Regions from separate parts of the Homo sapiens genome. Here regions 1 and 3 are each linked to region 2. The links are contacts of gene promoters, found by promoter capture Hi-C in blood cells and fetal thymus (Javierre and others, 2016). All regions are on one chromosome and are shown on one strand. Each heading gives the region's core, a stretch centred on a gene start or on the middle of the fragment in contact. The rest is flanking DNA. Distances are from core to core; before and after follow the strand shown. Region 1 overlaps AHI1-DT (AHI1 divergent transcript). Region 2 holds the start of PDE7B-AS1 (PDE7B antisense RNA 1). Region 3 overlaps AHI1-DT (AHI1 divergent transcript).

Evidence for each region. Contacts are between HindIII fragments. The CHiCAGO score rates a contact against its expected background, and 5 or more counts as called.
Region 1: a contact is called between a fragment that was not itself captured here and the fragment with the promoter of PDE7B-AS1 in region 2, in 1 of 17 cell types (total B cells). The highest score is 5.3, in total B cells.
Region 3: a fragment that was not itself captured here is called in contact with the fragment with the promoter of PDE7B-AS1 in region 2 in 4 of 17 cell types (total B cells, naive B cells, naive CD4 T cells and 1 more); the score reaches 6.6 in total B cells.

The regions. Positions count from the first base shown.
Region 1 is chr6:135,585,978-135,588,693 of GRCh38, forward strand. The region is part of intron 2 of AHI1-DT (AHI1 divergent transcript); the gene reads left to right. Among named protein-coding and RNA genes, the nearest start is that of LINC02524, 47 kb to the right of the region's middle. The HindIII fragment of the contact is 1,106 bases long and covers 760-1,865 here.
Region 2 is chr6:136,071,527-136,074,226 of GRCh38, forward strand. It overlaps PDE7B-AS1 (PDE7B antisense RNA 1), which reads right to left and starts at 1,301. Exons shown (of 4, transcript NR_149042.1): 1 at 1,023-1,301. All of the region lies in intron 2 of PDE7B (phosphodiesterase 7B), which reads left to right. The HindIII fragment of the contact is 8,353 bases long and covers 1,042-2,700 here.
Region 3 is chr6:135,698,090-135,701,028 of GRCh38, forward strand. The region is part of intron 5 of AHI1-DT (AHI1 divergent transcript); the gene reads left to right. Among named protein-coding and RNA genes, the nearest start is that of LINC02524, 65 kb to the left of the region's middle. The HindIII fragment of the contact is 645 bases long and covers 1,022-1,666 here.

The sequences.
Region 1 (2,716 bases), core at 63-2,562, 490 kb before region 2:
TGTTCTAATCTAGAGCTAATATGATATAATTTACAAATGTTCTGGTTTTAATTTTAAACAAATTATTCTGCCTGACCCCATGTTTTTCATTGCACACTAATATTGATATTTGACACATCAGATTATTAGATATTCATAACATTTGATTCCTTTGGCTATCATGGATCATTCTTTTATTCAGTAAATATTTATCGAAAGCCTTAAATGAGCCAAACTCTATTCTGATTCTGGGAATATAGTTGGTAACAAGACAAAAAAGATCACTGTTCTTGTGGAGTGAATATTCTCATGAGGAAAGAGAGACAGTATTCAAAATGTAAGAGGAATATGTTAGATAGTGATGAGTGCTCTGATGACAATAAGGCAGAGTCTGATGATAGGGAGGGACTTGGGGGCTCCTTTGGAGTGAGTAATCCAAGAAGACTGGAATGGCAAGCAGGGACCACTGCTGTAAAATCAGTGAAAGAGCATCCCAGATACAGGGAACTGACAGAGCTGCAGTCAACAACCTAGAACCAGGCTGTTCAAGGCAGAGAATGCACGAATCACAGATTGCTTTATCTAGACAAAATAATCAAAAGATATCCTGGCATTCCCCCTTCTGTTGGTGAGGCTCCAAGACCAACCTCACAAGACAAATGGTAAGACTGGTTTGTTTGGTAAGACTGGTTTTATTAACTACTCATAAAGATGGCAGAAGCAACAGAATTGACTTTCTTGCATAGTAAACAGGAGACTAGTCTGTGAGTGACCTGGAGAAGCTTAGTACGGCTGTGGCCAGTTTGATAGTTAATAGGTTAATTCTGATAATTATCAGCTGAGTTGATAGTTAATCCTATATTGAAATCCTGGAGGAGAAAGAATACAAAAGAGATGACATGGAAACCAGCTTCTTGTTCGCACTTGTTACTGAGAAAACACACTGCATAACACACAGGTTAAACGCTGTTTGCTGTTCATGGGGCTTTAATTGGAGGGTCACTCTTCTGGATGTTTGTATCACAAGTGCATTCCAGTGGCACTGGCCCAAGCTGTTATTTCCACCTTGTAGCTCATGTGGTTTTGCTATGGTGCTGATGTGCGTAAATGTGGTTGTTTCTGTGGTTTTCTTACAGGTCCTGGAGAATTACATATCATGCAAAAGGTTATAGGTCAGCTTATCTTTGCAGATATAGAACTAGGTAAAACTCCCCTAAAATACCGGTGCTTAGCAAAGTAACCTTGCAAGTTTACTTTGCCCTTCAATGATCAACAACAAAAACCAACCAACTAAACAAACAAAAATTAGAACTCATTAGCTTAACGATCCATCATTCATTAATACTCTTGAGCTTATGGAGAAAACAACCAATATATAAAATATTCTTCAATTGTACCTGCTGCTTTTATTTCTTTTAGAAGTATTTTTTTAAGCTGTACTTTTCCTAAAGCCTGAGAATATTTTGTGTTATTTTTGATGCCAGAAAGGATAATATAATACACTGTATGTCTTTAATTCGTTGTAACTGGTGGAAAAAGAGAAAGATAATTGAAACCTTAAAACAGCAGAGATAAGTGATCTAAGTTGTAAATCTGTTAGTAATTCAAGAACATTTAGAAATATCTCCTGATAAGGTTAATTGAAGGAATATTCTAATGAATGTAGTAAATTAGTTGTTCCCAATCTCAAAATCTTTTAATATTCTGAAAGAAATTAAGATTTTAGTGAGAGATATTCCACTTTATGGAACTACTTCTTTCTCCCTTTATCTCTTTATGGAAAATTCTATCTTAAGGAGCAAGGTGAATCTTTCTTGTTCTCTTTTACTGCAAAATATTTGTTTTTAATATGTAACTAACCTGCACATTGTGCACATGTACCCTAAAGCTTAAAGTATAATAATAGTAAAATAAAAAAAAATTGTTTTTAAAGCAAAACAAACTTACATAGAATCAATAATTTCTGTTATTAAATTATAGAATGGGAAGATGTATTGCTTATTGTGATGACCCTCAACCCTGGCTGCACATTAGAATCTCCTGGAATGGGGCTTCCAAACCTTAGTGTGCTTGTGAATCATCTAGGGAGTTTGTTAAAATGCAGATTTTGATTTAGGACTTCTGGGGTAGGACCTGAGAGTCTGCGTTTATAACAAACTCACAAGTGATGTTGATGCTTGATTAGCCTGTTCTTTCATTGCTATAAAGAAATACCTGAGACTGGGTAATTTATGAAGAAAAGAGGTTTAATTGGCTCCCAGTTATGCGGGCTTTGCAGGAAGAATGATGCTGGCATTTGCTCAGCTTCTAGGGAGGCCTCAGGAAGCTTCCAATCATGGCAGAAGGTGAAGGGGGAGCAGGCACATCACATGGCAAAAGCAGGAGCAAGTGAGAGAGAGTGGGCCAGGGGAGGTGCCACACACTCTAAAATAACCAGATTCCATGATAACTCACTATTACAAAGACAGCACCGAACCATGAGGGATCTGCCCCCATGATCGAAACACCTTCTACCACGCCCCACCTCCAGCACTGGGGATTACAATTTAACATGAGATTTGGTTGGGCACAAATATCTGAACTATATCCTGCCCTGCACCTCCCAAATCTCATGTGATTCTTACATTGCAAAATACAATCATGCCTTCCCAACAGTCCCTTAAAGTCTTAACTCATTCCAACATTAACTCATTCCAAGTCCTTAACTCATTCCAACATTAACTCAAAGTCCAAAGTC
Region 2 (2,700 bases), core at 51-2,550:
TGCTAGAAAGGCAACAGAGAGATAGTTCATTTCACCATTACAGAAACACCAAGAAATTATAAACTTCTCTGGATGTCAGTTTTCTTACTGGAAAAATTATGTTAAAATTATATCACTCTAGCCAAGTGTAGTGGTGCATGCCTGTAGTCCCAGCTACTAGGGAGGCTAAGGTGGGAGGATCGCTTGAGGCCAAAAGTTCGAGGCTTCACTGAGCTATGATCACACCACTGCACTCCAGCCTGGGCAACTGAGCAAGATTCCACTCAATAAATTAATAAATGAGTGCAGCATTCTAATGTTTTAAGGATTAAATGACATGATCATATAACAATGCCTAACAAGGTACACAGTGCAGTAACAAGTAAATGTATTTTAGCTTTTTTCCTTGGTTTCCATTAACATTTTTTTCCTTCAGTTAGTCATTCTAAAAATATTTATTAAGCATCTATTATGTTTTAAGAATTAAATGAGGTGACCCTACAACAGTGCCTTAAAAGGTACACAGCACAAAAACTAAATATATTTTAGCTTCTTCCCTCAGTCCCCTTTAACATTTTTTTCATTCAGTCAGTCATTCTACAAATATTTATTGAGCATTTATTATGTAGCAGGCATCATAATTTGTCTTGAATATATAATGGCAAATACAATAAACACAGTTCCTGCCCTTAATGGGGAAAACAGAAAATAAATAGGCGGGGAGGCGAGGAGAGAGAAAGACAAATCGAAATTGTCCTAAGTTCTGTGAAGGACCTAAACAGGGTACAGGGAGAGGAAATGGTGGGAGAGGGGCACCTGGTTAGATAGCTCATGGCATAGCTGATACTTTAATTTTGTTTTTTAAGTAGAGATGAGTTCTTGCTGTGTTGCCCAGGCTGCTCTTGAACTCCTGGGCTCAAGCGATCCTCCTGCCCTGGCCTACTAAAGTGCTGGGATTCTGGGTGTAAGCCACCTTGCCCAGCCCTGTTTATTTTTCTATTGATCTTAAGAAAGAAAAAGATGTCTTCTAATAACTATTTTACCTTAATCAGTTTTAAGACAAGCTTTGCAGAGCTCCATGACCCTCTGAAGAGACCGTGGCCACCTTGTAGGTTAGAGTATTTCGGACAGATGGCTGTACTACTGAGAGCTTTTCTGGACATGGCCGTTCTGGCTAACTTTCATCTTGTCATTACATTTCCTTTTCTGAGAAAGGTTGCAAGGGTGGTTTTGACAGAGTGATGCTGTTGGTATTTAGAATCCTGACTTTCTTGATCCTTTTCGGTGGAGCTGCGGGACACATGTGCGATGGAAACTGGCCTGGTTGCCATGGTGGATAGTGTTCTGACAACAGTCACATGGGTCAGGTGTCCGTTTTGGATCTTTCAGGCCTGTCAGCAGCTCCTGATAAAGCTAGCCATGTGGTTTTTCTTGGCTCACCTGTATATCCTGGTAGGAACAGCTAAGAGCCACTCAACGCACCCTTCTCTTTTTGGAGAAACCCCAGGGAGTTGTGTTGCTTGGGGCTGGGCCGCTTGGAGACCATGTTCTTTGTCTTTTTGGCCTGCTCTCGGGGCTAAGGAGCATTGATGGAATATCTGAGATGGTGGCGTCGGCAGGGATGGCCATGCTGAAGTCTGTTCATATCACACAACTAGGGCCACAAGCAAAGTCCTCCATCTGAATGACATTCAGGGACAGTCCATAAACTCAACGTGTGCACAGAGTGCCTCCGTACGCCATGCATTGTGACAGGTCCTGGGGTAACAGATCTGAAAGACTCCTTCTTTGTGTGTAAAGAACATGATTGGGTTAATTAAGTAAAAGTGAATATTTTCTTTACTGAGTCATAAAATTACGGGCATATGTCTTAATCAGCTAAGGCTGTCATAACACAGCACCATAAACTCAATGGCTTAAACAACAGAAACTGATTTTCTCACAGTCTTACAGGCTGAAAGTCCAGGATCAAGGCATCTGTGGAGTTGGTTTCTTCTGAGGCCTCTCCCCTCGGCTTGTAGATGTCACTTCTATGGTCTTCCCTCTGGGCCTGTGTCCTAATTTTCTCTTCATACAAGTGCACTAGTCATAATGGATTAGGGCCTACTCCAGTGGCCTCATCTAACTTAACTGCCTTTTAAAAGACCCCATCTCCATATAGGTCACATTCTGAGGTGCTTGGGTTAGGATTTTAACATACGAATTTGGCAGGGGACACACTCTAGCCCATAACAGCATTTTTACAGCCACACATAGTAAAAATCTGGAAATACACCACCACATGTATCAGAGTATAAGTGGCAAAGGTTGATCATGATACGTATCTCTCAGTTGAGAATTTCAGCGTGATTTCTAAAAACTTGTTGTGAAAGTACAATGCGCAGAAAACTGAAATTTCACCAAAAGTCCCATATCTGAAGCAAATAAAAAAATTTAGTTCCCATATTCTTTCCAATAGAAATAATTCCTTCGTGGAGAATTTATGCCTATCTCGTTCCTATGACAAAAAGGAATTTGGCCAGCCTGGCCAACATGGTGAAACCCTGTCTGTACTAAAAATACAAAAAAATGAACTGGGCACGGTGGCACACACCTGTAATCCCAGCTACTTGGGTAAAAGAATTACCTGAGGTAAAAGAATCATTTGAACCCAGGAGGTGGATGTTGCAGTGAGCCAAGATCGCACCACTGCACTCTATCCTGGGTGACAGAGAGACCTTG
Region 3 (2,939 bases), core at 94-2,593, 370 kb before region 2:
AGAACTTGAAGTTTAGGAAGTCTGGTGTCTGTAAATGGTGAGGCAGAGATCTACAGAGTAGGGAGCTACACAGAAAACGGGCTTGAGAAATATACACAGTGGGTCCCATGAGTCTGAAAAATATCAAGACAATGCACAGCGTGAAATGCTACAAGGCTGGGCAAAGAACAACTGTGGAGTTATGAGAGGAGCGTATTTCCACAATACACACAGACTGCGGAATCATTTGCATTACCACCAGATAGCATGGAGAGCCCTCATTGAGCCTCTTTACTTGGAGAATGCAGTAAAGACTCCATCCAGAAGGACTACTCTGCAGTAGTGGGCTAACCCATTCCTAGAGGAAAGGTTTCTCTAGCCCTGCCCAAGCACAACTTAAAAGCAAGTCTCAAAACCATCTAACTAAATACTTATATTAGAAAAGAAGTAGTATCAACAATCAATGATCTAAATTTATTAGAGTCTAAATTCCCACCACAAGAGGCTGGAAAAGAGAAGAAAAGTTAAACCAAAGTAAGCAGAAGGAAGAGAATAAAAATGATAACAAAAATAGAAAACCCAAGACAAACTGAGAAAATTTATGAAACCCCAAGCTGGGTTTTTGACAACATCAGTAATATTGGTAAATATCTAGCAAAACTGATACAGGAAAAAAAGGGAAGACAAAAAATTATCAGTCAAGAATTAAAGAGGGGACATCATTAACTATCCTATAGATTTTACCCAGATAATAAGGGAATATTAGTAACAAATTTATAATGACAAAGTTGGATTGTTGGGAAAAGCATCCTGTGGTAGCAGTAAGTAGCCATCCAACAAAAGCCACTATAACAATAACAAAAACACATCATTCATTAACCAATTTTATGTGGCAGGTCCTGGTTAAAGACAGTGGAAAGAAACCAAAACCAACTAAAGAAGAAAAGCAAGGATTATTTATTCAGTGTTTGCTATAGCAAGGGGAGTCTGCCACTGTCACTTGTGTTTTGGGAGAGAATCAAAGGCAAGCAGAGGAGTGGGAAGCTTCATAGTGAGAAATAAAGGGAAGGCTTCAATCATACCCTGACTGGAGGCTGTTGTCTTGGGGAAGTTGGAGGTAGGCTAACCAGAAGCAGAACATCCTCTGTGATTGCTTAGGGGTGCATATTTGGCTTTCTCTGGTTTGTCCTAAGTTTGGAGTGGGGACAGATATTGGGAAAGCTGTCAGTTATGAATCAAGTCCTGGCCATTTTGAGCCGATTGTTACAGAAGTTTTTGCTTAGCTTCCTATATTGTTTCTACAGATAGCAGCCTGACTTATAGCAGGCTGGCTTCCTGGACTATTTATTGAAGTTAACAGATTGGCTTTCTGGACAAGATTCTGGAGGTTGATGGTCAAAGTTCTATTTTTATACATGGATTAGTTCATGTCAGTTTGTATATTCAGTCCCTCAGTAATAAATGATATAGTGATACCCAATTCATTCTGAAAGCATAATGAAAAGAGTGACCCAGTCTTCCTGGGAGCATCCGAGAAGCCTTTACAGTGAAGCTAATATTTGAAGTTGCCTTAAATTCTGAGGCAAAAAGAAGATGAGAAGAAATTGCTACCAGAGATGACCACATTAAAAAAAATAATAAGCAGGTGGGTGGGTGGTGTGTTTGAAGATTAGTGACCTTTTAAAGAAGCTTGAACATAGGCGGGTGGAGGCAGACAGCCAGGAAAGAAAGGTGGAACCAAAATGTAATGGACTTTGAGTGTTGTTCTAAGATGTAATCTTATGGGCTCCAAGGGAGACAGGATGCTTTAAAGCCAATAGTTATAATATTAGACTTGTATTTTAGGAACATGATCCTTTTGATAGTGGAAAATATGCATGGGGTGGGTCAGGAAACTGGAAACTTGCACACAAGCTAGGATGGTATTTTACCAATTGGAGGAAGTGGTGGGAAAGGCCTTGATTTGGGCAGGGACGGTGGGGATACAGCAAAGGGCAGATAGAACAACCAGGGCAACATTTTGGACATGCAGTGCGTGCTCCGTAAATATCTGTTATATTTTTAAGTGAATAAATGGGACATTTAGGAAGTGGAATGGGTTAGGTTTGGTGACTGATTGGATATTATAAGGACAGGAAATAGTCAAGAACTACTAAAGTTTTTAGCTTCAGTGACTGATTGTATAGCAATGCTATCAGCCAAAGTGTGAAAAATAGGGGTGTGGCAGTTTATGAGTGAGGATGCCAAGTTTCATTTGGGGCATGTCTTTAGGGCTTATAAAATTGGAATCAGGGTTTGGGGGGGTCACTGATGGCACATAGGTAATAGCTGGAATTATGCAAAGAGGTGGGATTGGTCAGAAAGACTTTCCAAAGCTAGGGGAGAGGGTCCAGTCCTTGAATGCACTGATTCTCACTTTTTAAAATTATTTATTTATTTTTTTTGAGCCAGAGTCTCACCCTGTTGCCCAGGCTGGAGTGTAGTGGTATGATTTCGGCTCACTGCAACCTCTGCCTCCCAGGTTCAAGCAATTCTCATGCCTCAGCCTCCTGAGTAGATGGGACTATGGGCACATGCCCAACTAATTTTTGTATTTTTAGTAGAGATGGGGTTTGGCCCTGTTGGACAGGTTGGTCTCGAATTCCTGACCTCAAGTGATCCACATGCCTCAGCCTCTCAAAGTGCTAGGTTTACAGGCATGAGCCACCATGCCAGCCTGCACTGATTTTTAAACAGTGGATAAAAGAGGAAGAAACAGTGTTTGCCATTAAATACTGTTGTGTGCTACTTCTTTGGAATTTTTCCTTTAGTTTCTTGCACACAGTTTAACCATTCATCTACTTGTATGTAGGGAGATGAAACAGAATACCTTTTAAGGAAAACTATGGAAATCACATTGGGTGGAATGTACAGAATTCGGAGACTCTGACTCTTTGAGTCCTGAGCTTTGCGTGAGGGTG